Linked DNA regions of Homo sapiens: all the other regions are linked to region 1. The links are contacts of gene promoters, found by promoter capture Hi-C in blood cells and fetal thymus (Javierre and others, 2016). All regions are on one chromosome and are shown on one strand. The core of a region is centred on a gene start or on the middle of the fragment in contact, and the rest is flanking DNA. Distances in the headings are between cores, read along the strand shown. Region 1 holds the start of AGA (aspartylglucosaminidase). Region 2 holds the start of DCTD (dCMP deaminase). Region 3 holds the start of CDKN2AIP (CDKN2A interacting protein).

Region 1 (3,410 bases), core at 911-3,410:
TATAGGGATTGCATATTAGTTATTTAAATACAAATATCCGGCTGGGCACGGTGGCTCACACCTGTAATCCCAGCATTTTGGGAGGTCGGGGGGGTGGGGGCGGTGGGTGGATCACCTGTGTCAGGAGTTCAAGACCAACCTGGCCAAAATGGCAAAACCTGTCTCTACTTAAAATACAAAAATTAGCCGGGCATGGTAGTAGGCAGTAGCAATCCCAGCTACTCAGGAGGCTGGGGCAAGAGAATCGCTTGAATGCAGGAGGTGGAGGTTGCAGTGAGCTGAGATTACACCAGTGAACTCCAGCCTGGGCGATAGAGCAAGACTCCATCTCAAAAAATAAATACATACATACATACATACATACAAATATCCATGGAAAAGTTGATATATTGAGACCTTCTATCAGCCATTCCCACTATAGTGTAATTTAGCTGTTTCTCTGACAGGAATTTTTATTTAAGAAGAAAGAATTTGGAGAAATAGACATAGTAGGAGGTAACAGATCAGGCTCTTTCCACCAGAAGAAACACAAATACCTTAAAAAACAGGAAGAGGCTAGAGAGATCAGTGGGGTACTAAGACCAATTTTCCATGTATTGTATTTTACAATTTTTGCTAAAGGCATGTCCTAATTCCTTAAGGCTGCATAAAAATACTCAGCCCAGGAGCTAAGGAAAATTTACTCAGAGGACAATGTATGTTTTTCTGGCTTTCTTACCCTGTTTCACCCAAGTTTCCAGTTTCACCTGCCATTGGGTTATGATTACTCCAGCACAGATGACTTGTTCCTCTTCCAAACCCCATGAAAGGAACTTAGAAAATTTGTCTTTATTATATCTTTTAATTAACACTTCCCCAACGGGATAATGATACTTCTGGGCTATCTTATGTTCTTTAAATTATGTATTTAATTTCCTAGCAATCAATAAGAGCCTTGAAGGTTTTGTAAGTCTCACAACTCCTACCTAGTTTATATTTTTACATTTATTTATTTATTTATTTTTGAGACAGAATCTCACTCTGTTGTCCAGGCTGGAGTGAAGTGGTGCGATCTCGGCTCACCACAATCTCCACCTCCCGGCTTCAAGCAATTCTGCCTCAGCCTCCCAAGTAGTTGGGACTACAGGCATGCACCACCACGCCCGGCTAATTTTTGTATTTTTAGTAGAGACGGGTTTCACTATGTTGGCCAGGCTGGTCTCGAACTCCTGACCTCGTGATCCACCCACCTCAGCATCCCAAAGTGTTGGGATTACAGGCGTGAGCCATCGTGCCCAGCCTAGTTCATATTTTTAAAGTTTGTATAGATTTATAGATGCTTTTAAAAATTATGTGATTATGTGTCTTGCCTTGGCAACCTGGGCAGGCATTCCAGACACCCAAAGGGATTATTAGTTCATGTTCGCACGTCTGCCCAGCAACAAAACTGAGCAGCCTCCACCAAGCACGTAAAATCCCCATTCCTCCTCTTATTCATTTATTTAGCACTTAATAGTGCCAGGCAGGAAGGTAAAAATACATTTAAAAAGGAATGGAGGTAGCCGTCTTGCCCTGGAGGTGCAGGAAGCTGCACTTCAGTGTGCTAGGTAGAGGGTACATAGGCCGTTTCTGTTTTTCTTCCAGCTCAGGGATTTATAATGAGAGGAAGTGCTACAAAAAGCTGTGGTGCGAAAATGACGGACGCTATGAATGGAAAAAAAATCTAAAATCAATCCGGTCCTAAGCAAACACGCTTCACCTACACTCATAACTATTGCAGACCTCCGAGGCCTGGGATCCCCAAGAATATACTGAGTTTGACAAACTTTTCAACTTCAACTTTAAATTAAAAAGACAGTAAAAGAACCAAATCCATAGTACACAGCAATCGGCTAAAGTTCCTGGGGCCCTGCAACCCAGAGTTGAATAATTTTGTATTAAATTCCCAATATCAAGCTAAATCTATTTTAACCACAGGAAAAGCAGCAACTTGTCTGGCTATTTTAAAAATCTGAACAGCACTTAGGAAGAAGCACCTTAGCGCAGGGAACAGCTCAGTGCCCCGTGACACAACTCTCCCGCGGGCCCAGGGACGCCTCGTCTCGCGAGAGTTGAGGGACGCCTGAGCGAACCCCCGAGAGAGCGGGCGTGGGCGCCAGGCGGGCGGGGCACTGGGGATTAATTGTTCGGCGATCGCTGGCTGCCGGGACTTTTCTCGCGCTGGTCTCTTCGGTGGTCAGGGATGGCGCGGAAGTCGAACTTGCCTGTGCTTCTCGTGCCGTTTCTGCTCTGCCAGGCCCTAGTGCGCTGCTCCAGCCCTCTGCCCCTGGTCGTCAACACTTGGCCCTTTAAGAATGCAACCGAAGCAGGTGCGGGTTGGCGGCCTGGGCGGGCGGCTGCGCCGCGAGAGCTTGCGGGTGGGGATGACTAGCCCGCCCCGCTGCAGTCACCCGGCAGGGCGGACGGAAGAGCGCCGGGCTGGGCCGGGCCTCGCGGTCCCGCCCTCTAGGTCTTCCCGAGTCTCCAGCGCCGCTCAGTCTCTTGCAAGTGGCCTTTACTGCATCCTCCCCACCTACCGCTGTTGCATTTTAGGTCCTCCCTTCATGCAGCCCCCAGCGCAATGTATTTTCCACCCTGCTGCTGACCATAGTTATGGCCTTTGTGCTTTAATCAAGTAGCAGCTACGCTTTTCTGCCTGACAGTCTTTTCACGGGCTGTGTACGTCTCCACCTCTCGTTTCTAATCCTTCACTTCTTTGCAATTTTGTAGACGACTAATAGTGTCCCAGCCATAGCCTACTCTTTTCCCATTTACTTTTTTTGCCACGTGTTGTCATACTTTACCTGCCACTTAGAATTCAAGGTTCCAACCTTTGCTGTACATTCACACTATCTGGGGAGCTTCTCAAAAATCATCCTGCCGGGGCCCACCTCCTGTGACTGTGATCTAACTGCTGGAATCAGGGCCACTGTTTTTCTTTAAAAAGCTCCCTAGGTGATTTCGATTTGCAGACAGGGTTGAGAACCACTAAGCTAAGGTATCACCTCTTCCAGGAAGCGTTCCCTGACTTAACTGCCCTCGTGTCCAGAATGAGTTAGGTTCCTGCCTTCTACACCTTGTTAATAGCCTTTACGTACCATTATCTTGGCATTTTCGCATTGTACTATGCTTGTTTCTTTCATTTGCTTAATGACCAGAAGAGTCATTTTCAGACCCCTCCTCCTCCATCTGAGGTTGCTAACGTATTAACTTTCTAGGGCAGAATTGGCTCCAGAATTTGGTGGCAGTGCATACGATTCAGAGAAAATGAAGAAGCAGGCTGTGAGAAAGATATTCCCAGCCATAATGAGACGAAAAGAAATTGCATCAGCCTGGGCGGGGGACAGTTCTGTGTTTAAGTTGCCTGTATTGAAAGAGGGAACTTGCGTAAA
Region 2 (4,662 bases), core at 1,405-3,904, 5.5 Mb before region 1:
ATGAATTGCAAGGAGAAAAAGGAGGCGGATAGGGAAGTAGAACCAGAGTTCACAGACAAAGACTTCTCTCTATGAGTTAGATGCTCCAAACAATTTGGCATAGAACAATGATTTTCTATTAACTCATTTATTTAGTCAACAAATATTTATTAATAAAAAACGGCAAAACACCCAGCTTTGTGCATATGCCATGTTAACATTTCCTTATTGATCTTCATTGAAAAAAAAGATTTTTTTTTTTTTGAGATGGGGTCTCCCTCTGTCACTCAAGCTGGAGTGCAGTGGTGCAGTCACAGCTCACTACAGCCTCAACCTTCTAGGCTCGAGCAATCTTCCCTCCTCAGCCTCCTGAGCAGCTGGGACTACAGGCATGCACCACCATGCTTGGCTCATTTAAAACTTTTTTTTTTTTTTTTTTTTGCAGAGACTGGGTCTTGCATAGCCCAGGCTGGTCTCAAATTCCTGGGCTCAAGCGATCCTCCCACCTTGGCCTGCCACTTTGCTGGGATTACAGGAGTGAGTTCATTACAACAAACCCGGCCCTTCATTGTAATTTTGAAGATGTATAATGACAAAGTAATTGGTGGCTTCAACTCATAACAAAAACGCTGTTTAGGGATCCTGATTTTTTTTCTGATAGGAGTGCTCTGTCATGTCAATTTGCAGTCTGTATGCCCTTCATGGAACACAAACAACTGACCTCATGCTCTAACATACATACGAAAATGTATATACAGGTTGAATATCCCTTCTCCAAAATGCTTAGGACCAGAAGTGTTTCAGGTTTTGGATTTTTTCAGATTTGGGAATATGTGCATATATGTAATGAGGTGTCCTGGGGATGGGACCCAAATCTAAACACAATATATATTTATGTTTAATATACACCTTACATACATAGCCTGGAAGTAGTTTGACAGGATATTTTTCATAATTTTGTGCACCTATCACATGAGGTCAGGTGTGAATTTCCCACTTGTGGGAGTGTCAGCACTCAAAAAGTTTCAGATCTTAGAGCATTTTGGATTTTGAATTTTCAGGTTAGGGATGCTCAACCTGTACTGTATTGATAAGACCACATATTTATTTTTTTCTAGAATTTTCATTGTGACTTTTTTGTGGTTTAGCAGACTTACAGTCATCCCTTACTTAAGATTTAAAAAGAGTTTTCTCTAGTTTGCACTTTAGCATGGAAACATAAACAATTATTCCTTTGAAAACCAGTCAAAGTGGCACTTTGCCTCTAAGTGCAGTTGTTATGCAAAGGAGTTTTTGGTCCTGACTGACAACCACCAAATTAAGAACAACAGGCAGTTTATAACAACATTTACTATGTTCACTGGGCCAGCAATAAGGTTCATTTTTTTCTGTGTTTATTTGCGGAGAGGGGAATGTGAGGGCAAGAACTGGCTTATAGTATCCATCATGGTATTTACAGCACTTAGCACATAGCAGGGAATTAATAAAAAATGAATATTGTTGATTTTACAGAGACTCCAAGAATGGAAGTAGCTTCTCAAGGTTACTCGGGTTGTAAGAAGTGGGAGTAGGGTTCAAAGTCTGGTCTGACTCCAAGGCCGGTGCTCTTTCTCTCATGACAAACTTGATGGACAGATTGGCCACCTTCCTGACTCCTTGCCTCTGTTTCCCCAGTCACAGGTCTCATCCTTACCTTGGCAGGCAGAGGAGGTGGAAGGAGGGGCAGGTAGTATCTCGGTACGGCAGACATTTGCAAATGCCATCAACCCCTCTTCTGAGGCAGCCCTGGAAGAGTCTTACCTTGACTTCTGTTTTTAATCGGGATCCCCTACCTAAGGCACACTGAAATATTAATATATTCCAGGTTATGCTCTAGACTAGACATAGATAGCACGAAACCCCATAAACAAAAGGGCCAAGACAGTAGTCCTTAGGAATGTGCTGATTGGGTTCAACCTGTGTGAGGCCCTCAAGGAAGGCCAATCTAGATAGGGCTGAACACATACCTAACCTCTGTATCTGTAGTAGGTGGAGAAAGATCCTCAATTATAAGCCCAAATACAAGGTATTAGCAAGAGAGATTTAACACCTACAGTCACACTTGGAGTTACAAGGTGTTAATGAGAAAGACATACCAAGGAATATATTTCTCCCCCCTTTGGCCGCGTGGCTTCACTATTGGTGTACAATATTTGAAACCTCAAGTTGTGAAACTCTGAACCAGGAGGGTTTCCTGTATTATGAATGATGTCATCTTTAAGATGAGGGACTTTCAGTGAAATGCGGGAACATTCAGGGTAATGTGTTTTCAGCAAGCAGGAGCTTGAATTTATGGCAGAGGGGAGTGTGTGAGTTGACCAAAATGGAGAGTGATGAGAAGTAACTAAATTATGTATGACAGTCTTTACCGAGCAGAGGAAGGAAGAAAGCTTAATGATGTTGTGGTTGAAGGAGCAGCAGCAATTGGTGATGTATGGGTTGTAGGTTGGTAAGAAGAGAAATGGATCTATGAAGACCCAAAGACTGTAGATGAGTGTGACAAAGACCAAGCGGTGGATTTGGGAGGAGGAGGGAAACCAGGGGCTCGGGATATATGACACATTTTAGCGGCAACAAGACAGCCATGTAAAGTCAACTTGAAATTAAAAATCATCATCTTAATCTATGTGGCTCTTTCAAGCCTGAGTCTTATCAAGGCAAAAAAAAAAAAAAAAAAATCTATAGTTAACGATGAAGTATTTCTCCCTTTTGCTTTCCCGGCATCCACCAAGAGCAGTACATAATTTAATTATTGAATCTACAAGCTGGACCATGAGATGAAGAATGATGTGTCTGCTGTAGTGAGAAATTAGATAGAACCAACTGTTTACTCTCATCATTCTTCCTCCGTTAGGCTAAATTAATATAGTTAACAAGCTTTTGTTTGGAATAGCAGTTCAAATCTGGGATGTGCAGATCAGAACTGGCGATTATTACAGTAGCTGTTATTTATGGAGTGCTGACAGTCCCCTCAAGTCCCATGAATGAAACAGAAAGGGGTTCTTCTGTCATTCTCTGTGCTAGAACCACTGTAAGGGGCTAGACGTCTGCACAGGGTAACGAAGTTCATGAAAACCAGATTAAGTTGCTTGGGGCATACGACTCCAGAAATGTCACTGATGGTCTTTCCTATTGCCCTGTTTTTCTCATCTTTGAAACAACTGCAACAAAATGTGCACTATATAAGTGGGCGAGCATTACCAGGAGGTAACATGCAGGTGGGGTGCCTGTGCGGTGATACGGGTCGAGCAGGGCGCGGCAGGCTTTAGCAAACACCTCAGGCCCTTCCGCACAATTTGAGCAGAAACTGAAAGCCTGTCAGGCGCAGCCAAATGCAAATCTAGCTTCGAGGCACTGAGCCTCGAGGCACAGCGCCCCCGCCGGACCCAGTTCCCTGCCCCATCCAGTGTGTGAAACTGTGACCCAGCCACCGGCCAAGGGTCCCCACGGGGACGCTGCGACACAGCGGGCTCACTCCAGAGACCCAAACCAGGTCTCCCCACCTCCCGCCCCGCCAGTTTCACGGCACTAGATTCTTGGGGTCGTCTTTTAATCACAATCTCCATAGCCGTGTCTCTAAGCAGTTGATGGAACACGGATGGTGGGGAAAACCTCACCACCGCCACCACCACCAAACCAAGCAGCCCCCGACGGTCGTGCAGTCAGGCCCGGGAGCGCCCAACTCGCGGCCACCCAGCGCCACGCGTGACCCGGGCAGCGGGGCGACCTCGGGGCGGTCTGGCACCCGGGAAGTAGTTTGTGCTCGGGCTCTGAACACCGCCGGCCGGACCGCGGGCTGCGTCACGGGGACCGGGAGGCGTACGGCGACGCGGAGCAGCGCCTTTGCGGCGTGCGACCCGCCCCCGCCGTCCCTCCCTCCCTCCCCTCAGGGCTTCGGGCCCCCGGGGCCAGCCGCCGTCCTGCGAACGCGCGGCGCCCGGGCCGCTGCCCCCTTCCGGCCCCGCGGCGGCCCCGCCTCCTCCCCCGACTTCCTTCCCTGAGCACGGCGGCGGCGGGGACGAGCACCGGCCTGCGCGCGGAGCCGGCACCGGATGGTGGGCGGGGGCCAGCCGTGCGGGTACGCGGCCCGCGCGCCCCTAGCCACCGCCGCGTGGCACCGTCCCGAGCGCGTGGCGCGGGGCGCTGGCTGCCGGGCGGGGGCCTGGGGCCGCGGACGCTGGGGGCGCCTCGGCCGCGCTCAGCCTTTAGATCGGAGAATGCGGGCGGGGTGGGGGCGCTCGGGGTCCCCGCAGTCACTCCAGGGTCGATTTCTCGGCGGGCGCCGCGGCCTGTGCGAGGCCGGGCCCCTTGGAGTGCCCCGGGAGGTGGTGCTGGGCGTCTGAACACCACATCCCTTCCTGCGCCCGTGTGTGGGTTGGGAATGCCGGGTGTAGGCCCTGGATCAGAGCTGACGGGGTTGCGAGCGGCGTGGGGTGTGCCTGGGACGGTGACCGGATGTGTCTTCCTGAATCGTTGTATTCGAGCTCCAGTTCTCTCTGTTTCTACAGCTGGGCCTCAGTCCTCACAGGGCTCTAGTGGGCGTTCAGCCACACCAGGAGAAGGCGCCCAGGGGATTAACAGGACCCTTCCCTCTCCTGCTCTTCCCTCGCCCCCCATGGCTCCCCCTCCCTCCTATTTAGTAGG
Region 3 (5,021 bases), core at 508-3,007, 6.0 Mb before region 1:
TGGAGCTTCTGCTTCAGAAGCTTTCCCAGATCCTGCCGTTGTTACCTGAGAGGAAACGCTGCTGCTGCTTTGGCTGGAAACAGATCGATCTCCATCACTTGTAGAGCTATTCTGACTGGAGATGCCAGAGCTCCGAGCTGAGTTCCCACTCTCTGATTTGATGGCCGACCCTATACACGTTGAACTGTTTTCCTGCTGAGCTGATGCACGTTCTGTCTTGGCAGAGGTTTTTGCGTGATCTTGCTCAACTGCAGAACTGTTTTTTCCTTCTATAACTCGTTTTTTGGATGGCTCTTCTACCCCTTCTAAAAAGAAGAAAAACATAGATATGTGACTAAGAATACCTCGTACAAAACGGGTGATGAGACAAATACACATTAAAATAAAGGCACAAAGTGAAAACATTTCAAGACTAATCGTTTCTTTAAAAAGTGTGGAGTCATTAATTTCTTAAAACAGTGTTGAATAACATCATGAATGTCTAATATTAAAAAAATAACAGCATCAGACAACAGTGGACACTTCAAAATCTAAAGCAGTCAAAGCAAACTATCAAATTCAAAGCCTAAAGACACAGATATATACTTTAGGTTTAACATTCCAACTTTATTACTTATTAATAACATAAAAATTCTGGCTTGTTAAAAAAATTAGTAACAATAATTCCTAATTATATCAAACTTATGCTCTAAACTCCTATGTATGTTCACATCTATGATCTGCTAACCATTGCTACTCGATATCCCTCTTTTCTTCACCTTGGCAACCAGTTCATCTCTTGTTGTATAGGTTGGAGCATCTGTCACTTTGATGCCTTCAGCCATACTAAGTATTTTATCCATAACTTTTTGAGGGTATCTGAAAAAGAAGGAAAAGTCATTTTTAAAAAGTGTTTTTTCTAAGGTCCTACTTGTGCAAAAAACAGGCCACAGGGACTGCATTTCCTGGCTGCAATCAAGAAAGTGAACCAACCGCCAAGAACTGTTTCCTGGAACCCCATAAACAAGTGCCCCAGGGTCTGGGAGGCAGGGCACCTCCTCACTAATCTTAAATCTCGCACCCGTCCCCAAGAGCGTTGTTCCCTAACACAAGCAACCCTACCAGCAGCTGCGCCCACACCACCGGGCACACAGACGTCCGGGAATCATGTCGGCTCCTCGCAGGGACGCCCTTCTCCCCCTTAGAGGGCAGCCGGGCCGGCGGATTCCCGCGCTTCACAACTTCCCCTCCCCGCCGAGGCCGGTCCCGCGGAGGGCGCCGGGCCCCGGTCTGCAGGTGGCACACAAAACGAGGCGTGCTGGTTAGGGACGCTGCCTCACTCACCGGCACCCGAGGAAGACGTGGTTCGCCCAGGCCATGGAAAAGGAGATGAGCTGCTGCAGCTGCCGGTTTCGGGTCCCGCTCTCGGCGTCGGCAGCTTCATCCGTGCTAGCGGAGGCAGCGCCGCCAGCGGGGGCCAGGTCCCCGGCGTTGCGAAGCAAAAAATCCCGGCGGTGGCGCCAGTGTTTGTCAGTCTCGCCGTCGCAGCGCAGCGCCTCCACCCAGGCTGCCACCCGCGGGTTCTGGCTCAGGTACTCCGACACCTCCTGCGCCATGTTGGGCCTGCAGGCCGCGAACACAGCTGCACCGGGAGACAGGCAGGACTAGCGGGGCGAGCGGCCCTGTCACTGCGGCCTGCACCCGCGGCCCTCCAGATAACGCCCCTCCGCAGGCCTAAAGACCAAACAACAGCGCCCAGAGCCGCCGAACCGCCCACTTCCGCCCACCGCCGGCTTCTTCCCTTTTATAACCTCGCCGCCGCCGCGCGCCCTCGCGTTCTTCCGGCGCGAGCCGGCGCTCCCAAGACGCTTTGCGGCGCCGGGGCCGCTGCGACGCTGCGTCCCCGTGAGGCCACGGAGGGCACCCCGGGGGTGAGGTGGGCGGGCGTCGGGCGTCTCCCGCCCCACGAGGGCGGACTGCAAGTCGAGCTGGCCTGGGACGACCGAGTCTCGGCGGAACCCCGGGCGTTCTGTCCTCGCTTTGTGACGCCGCGCGCTCCTGCCGTCCTCCTCCCCCGCCGGGTCAGCTGCGGCGCCGGGAGCAGAGGCGAGAGGGGCAGGGCCCGGGCAAGGGAGGCAGCCGGGCGCGGCGGCCAAAGTCCGCTAGGGGGGCGTCCCGGGGGACCTTGAGCCGCCCGCAGCCGCGGGGCCTGTGGTCTCCGCCCTGAGACGCCTGTGTGTGAGCGGGGCCAAAACAAACAAAAGCCGGCCTCCATGTTAGAGTGTTGGGAGCTGCGTCTCGCGCTGCTTTCAGTGTGCCCGAGCGAAGCGTTCCGAGGCCGTCGGGGTCTCCGCGCCTTCAGGAGGGCGGGAGTGCCAGTCCCCTTACATAGCAGCAGTAGACAGTAAGGTCACACGAGGACCTGGCTCCGTGTTGCCGTGAGGCTTGCAGCCTTCGAAGCTGGCCCTGGCCCCGCAGCGGTAGGGCTTGTTCCCGCAGTTTATTAGGTCTCTAGTTAATCCAGGCATTGCCTTCCTGTTCTGGTCAGTAGGAAAACAACACCCCGACAACGCTCTGTCTCTAGAATTTCCTAAAATCAACAGCTTTACCACCAACCGGCAGATGTCCGGAGGTGGAGTGGAAATGTACCTATTTATCTATAGGGCCCCAAACCTCTCTCCCTGTTAGAGCTGTTTTTTCCTTCTATATATTTTTTTCCACTTTACATTTCCCACAGTTACGTACTCTAACTGCTGGCTGGCTTATTGTTACGTTTCCCATTCCAGGTATACATGCACTGTAAGATAAATACGTTAAATGATATAAATTATGAAATTTTTCTTTCAATAAATGTAGACTTTGATGTAAAAATGCATGAATCAGAATAAGCAAGCAAAAAAAGGTCACTTTAGGTAAGATCAGATAAGGTTAACTGTGTAATTTATGTGCATGCTGGAACAAAATACAGCTATTGTATGAAAACAATATTGCCCATTTTCCTGCCATACCAAAAGAAACTACATAAAAACGGAGGCACAAAGAAATTTTGAAGCTTTGTGATTTTGCTTCTAGTTTGCTGTTCTTTCCTCCTTTTCACAGATAATTGCTGAAAATCTAGAGGGGGTGGACGGATTGCAGAAATCTGGCTATTTAAAAGGTGGAGAAATTACGATTTCTCCTTTCATGAATTCTTTGGCAAGGGGACCATGGCAAGTAAAAGAAGCTATGATCGCATACCTAGATTATATATGTGCATTTTAAATCAAGAATGTTCTCACGGCCAGGTGCAGTGGCTCACGCCTGTAATCCCAGCACCTTGGGAGGCCGAGGCGGACGAATCATGAGGTCAGGAGTTCGAGACCAGCCTGGCCAATGTAGTGAAACCCCATCTCTACTAAAAATACAAAAGTTAGCCAAGTGTGGTGGCACGTGCCTGTAGTCCCAGCTACTCTGTAGGCCGAGGCGGGAGAATCGCTTGAACTCAGGAGGCAGAGGTTGCAGTGAGCCGAGACCAAGCCATTGCACTCCAGCCTGGGTGACAGAGTGAGACTTCATCTCAAAAAATAATAATAATAATGTTCTCACTTTTTTTCTTGTTGCCCTGTAGTCTTCTTCCCACTCATGGGCTTCATTGCCTTGAAAGGAGAACAAGTAGAGCCTGAATTTCAAACAATTTTTTTAATTATAATAAAAGCGATAGAGTCTGAAAGATGGAGTACTTGTGCAAAAACCAGGTGCTTGGAATAAAAGATACATGCATTTTTCTTTTTTGATTCTTAAAAAGTTGACTTTGCATATAAAGATTCAAAGACTATGAACCACAAGTAGCTGGGACTGCAGGCGGGTACCACGACGACAGGCTAATTTTTTATTTTTTTGTAGAAACAAGGTTTCACTGTTGTCCAGGCTGGTTTTGAACTCCTAATATCAAGCAATTCTTCTGCCTCGGCCTCTCAAAGTGCTGGGATTATAGGCATGAGTCGCTGTGCCCGGCCTCATTTTTTTTTAAAGACCCTCCCACCTACAGAGACAAATTCCTCTCTAAGCTGGGGGAGACGTTCTGAGAGAAAAGGTGAGAGGAGAATTTAGGTGATAACTAGGAAAGTCTATGGGAGTAGGGAATAAGATGCAGGGTGGGAAGTGTTGGCTGTTAGAAATTGCTAGGTAGATTTTGGGTCTAAGAGCAGAAGGACTTGGCTCTGCCCGAGTTTCTGAGAGAAGACAGCCCAATCGTGCCCTGAGCCTGTATGCGTTGGCCTTTAGAAATGAACATAGAAAGGGCCTTTTATAGCTTTGATAACCAACTATACAACTCCCTCCTCTGCTCCTAACACACGTGTGTATATATATATACATATGTGTGTGTGTATATATACATAACACACACACACGCATTTACGCACATATATCTCACAGGGCCTAGAGGAGATCCAAAAGGTTCCCAAGAAAGAGTTGAATGGTGAAGTGCCTACCAAGCACCAGGGTCCAAGGTGAATGAGGCTAGGGGTGGTCAGCTTGTCAGCAAAGGGAGATGCAGCTAGTTTTCAGCAAGTCATCAGACCAGTGCCCGTCAGGCCGCATCAATAGGAGAGGACCCTCAACCTCTCCTGAAATGATCAGTGTGCATTGCTTGTGCTGGTAGATCAAGCAGTTATACTCCCAGCAGAGCCCACAGGGAAGAAAGCACAAGACAATGCTAGGATGATAACCAAGCCTCACCCCACCACTGCCCTCACTAGAAATCTACTCAGAGGAGAAAAGGGAGAGAATTCTAATGAATTGAGAAAGATCCACTATCATCCCAAATTGAGTTTCAAACAAGTGACTGAGTTCACAGGATTAAATTTTCTGCTGTAAGTGGAAGCCCATTCACTGAAACTGGTTCTGTAGCATATCTCTCTGAAGACATCCAATAAAAATTCCAGCGGCAAGCTGGCTTTTCTGCAGATGGCTTTCCCATGGAGCAACATGAAGGGATTGCCCCTGTTCCTGGATGTGACTGTGGAAGCAAGAAAGCCTTTGGCAGGAAGGTCTGCATGTGG

What was found. Contacts are between HindIII fragments. The CHiCAGO score rates a contact against its expected background, and 5 or more counts as called.
Region 2: a contact is called between a fragment that was not itself captured here and the fragment with the promoter of AGA in region 1, in 1 of 17 cell types (total B cells). The highest score is 6.1, in total B cells.
Region 3: the fragment with the promoter of CDKN2AIP here is called in contact with the fragment with the promoter of AGA in region 1 in 2 of 17 cell types (naive CD8 T cells and naive B cells); the score reaches 7.5 in naive CD8 T cells.

Annotation. Positions count from the first base shown.
Region 1 is chr4:177,441,187-177,444,596 of GRCh38, reverse strand. It overlaps AGA (aspartylglucosaminidase), which reads left to right and starts at 2,160. Exons shown (of 9, transcript NM_000027.4): 1 at 2,160-2,348. The coding sequence starts at 2,222. It also overlaps a transcript of AGA-DT not described here. RefSeq lists enhancers at 1,495-1,574, 1,665-2,208, 3,035-3,114. The HindIII fragment of the contact is 8,233 bases long and covers 1-3,410 here.
Region 2 is chr4:182,916,722-182,921,383 of GRCh38, reverse strand. It overlaps DCTD (dCMP deaminase), which reads left to right and starts at 3,998. Exons shown (of 6, transcript NM_001921.3): 1 at 3,998-4,073. RefSeq lists an enhancer at 2,034-2,083 and a silencer at 3,657-4,366. The HindIII fragment of the contact is 487 bases long and covers 2,411-2,897 here.
Region 3 is chr4:183,441,372-183,446,392 of GRCh38, reverse strand. CDKN2AIP (CDKN2A interacting protein) reads right to left here and starts at 1,757. Exons shown (of 3, transcript NM_017632.4): 1 at 1,324-1,757; 2 at 728-858; 3 at 1-305. The coding sequence starts at 1,595. RefSeq lists an enhancer at 1,303-1,452 and a silencer at 1,733-2,282. The HindIII fragment of the contact is 3,011 bases long and covers 23-3,033 here.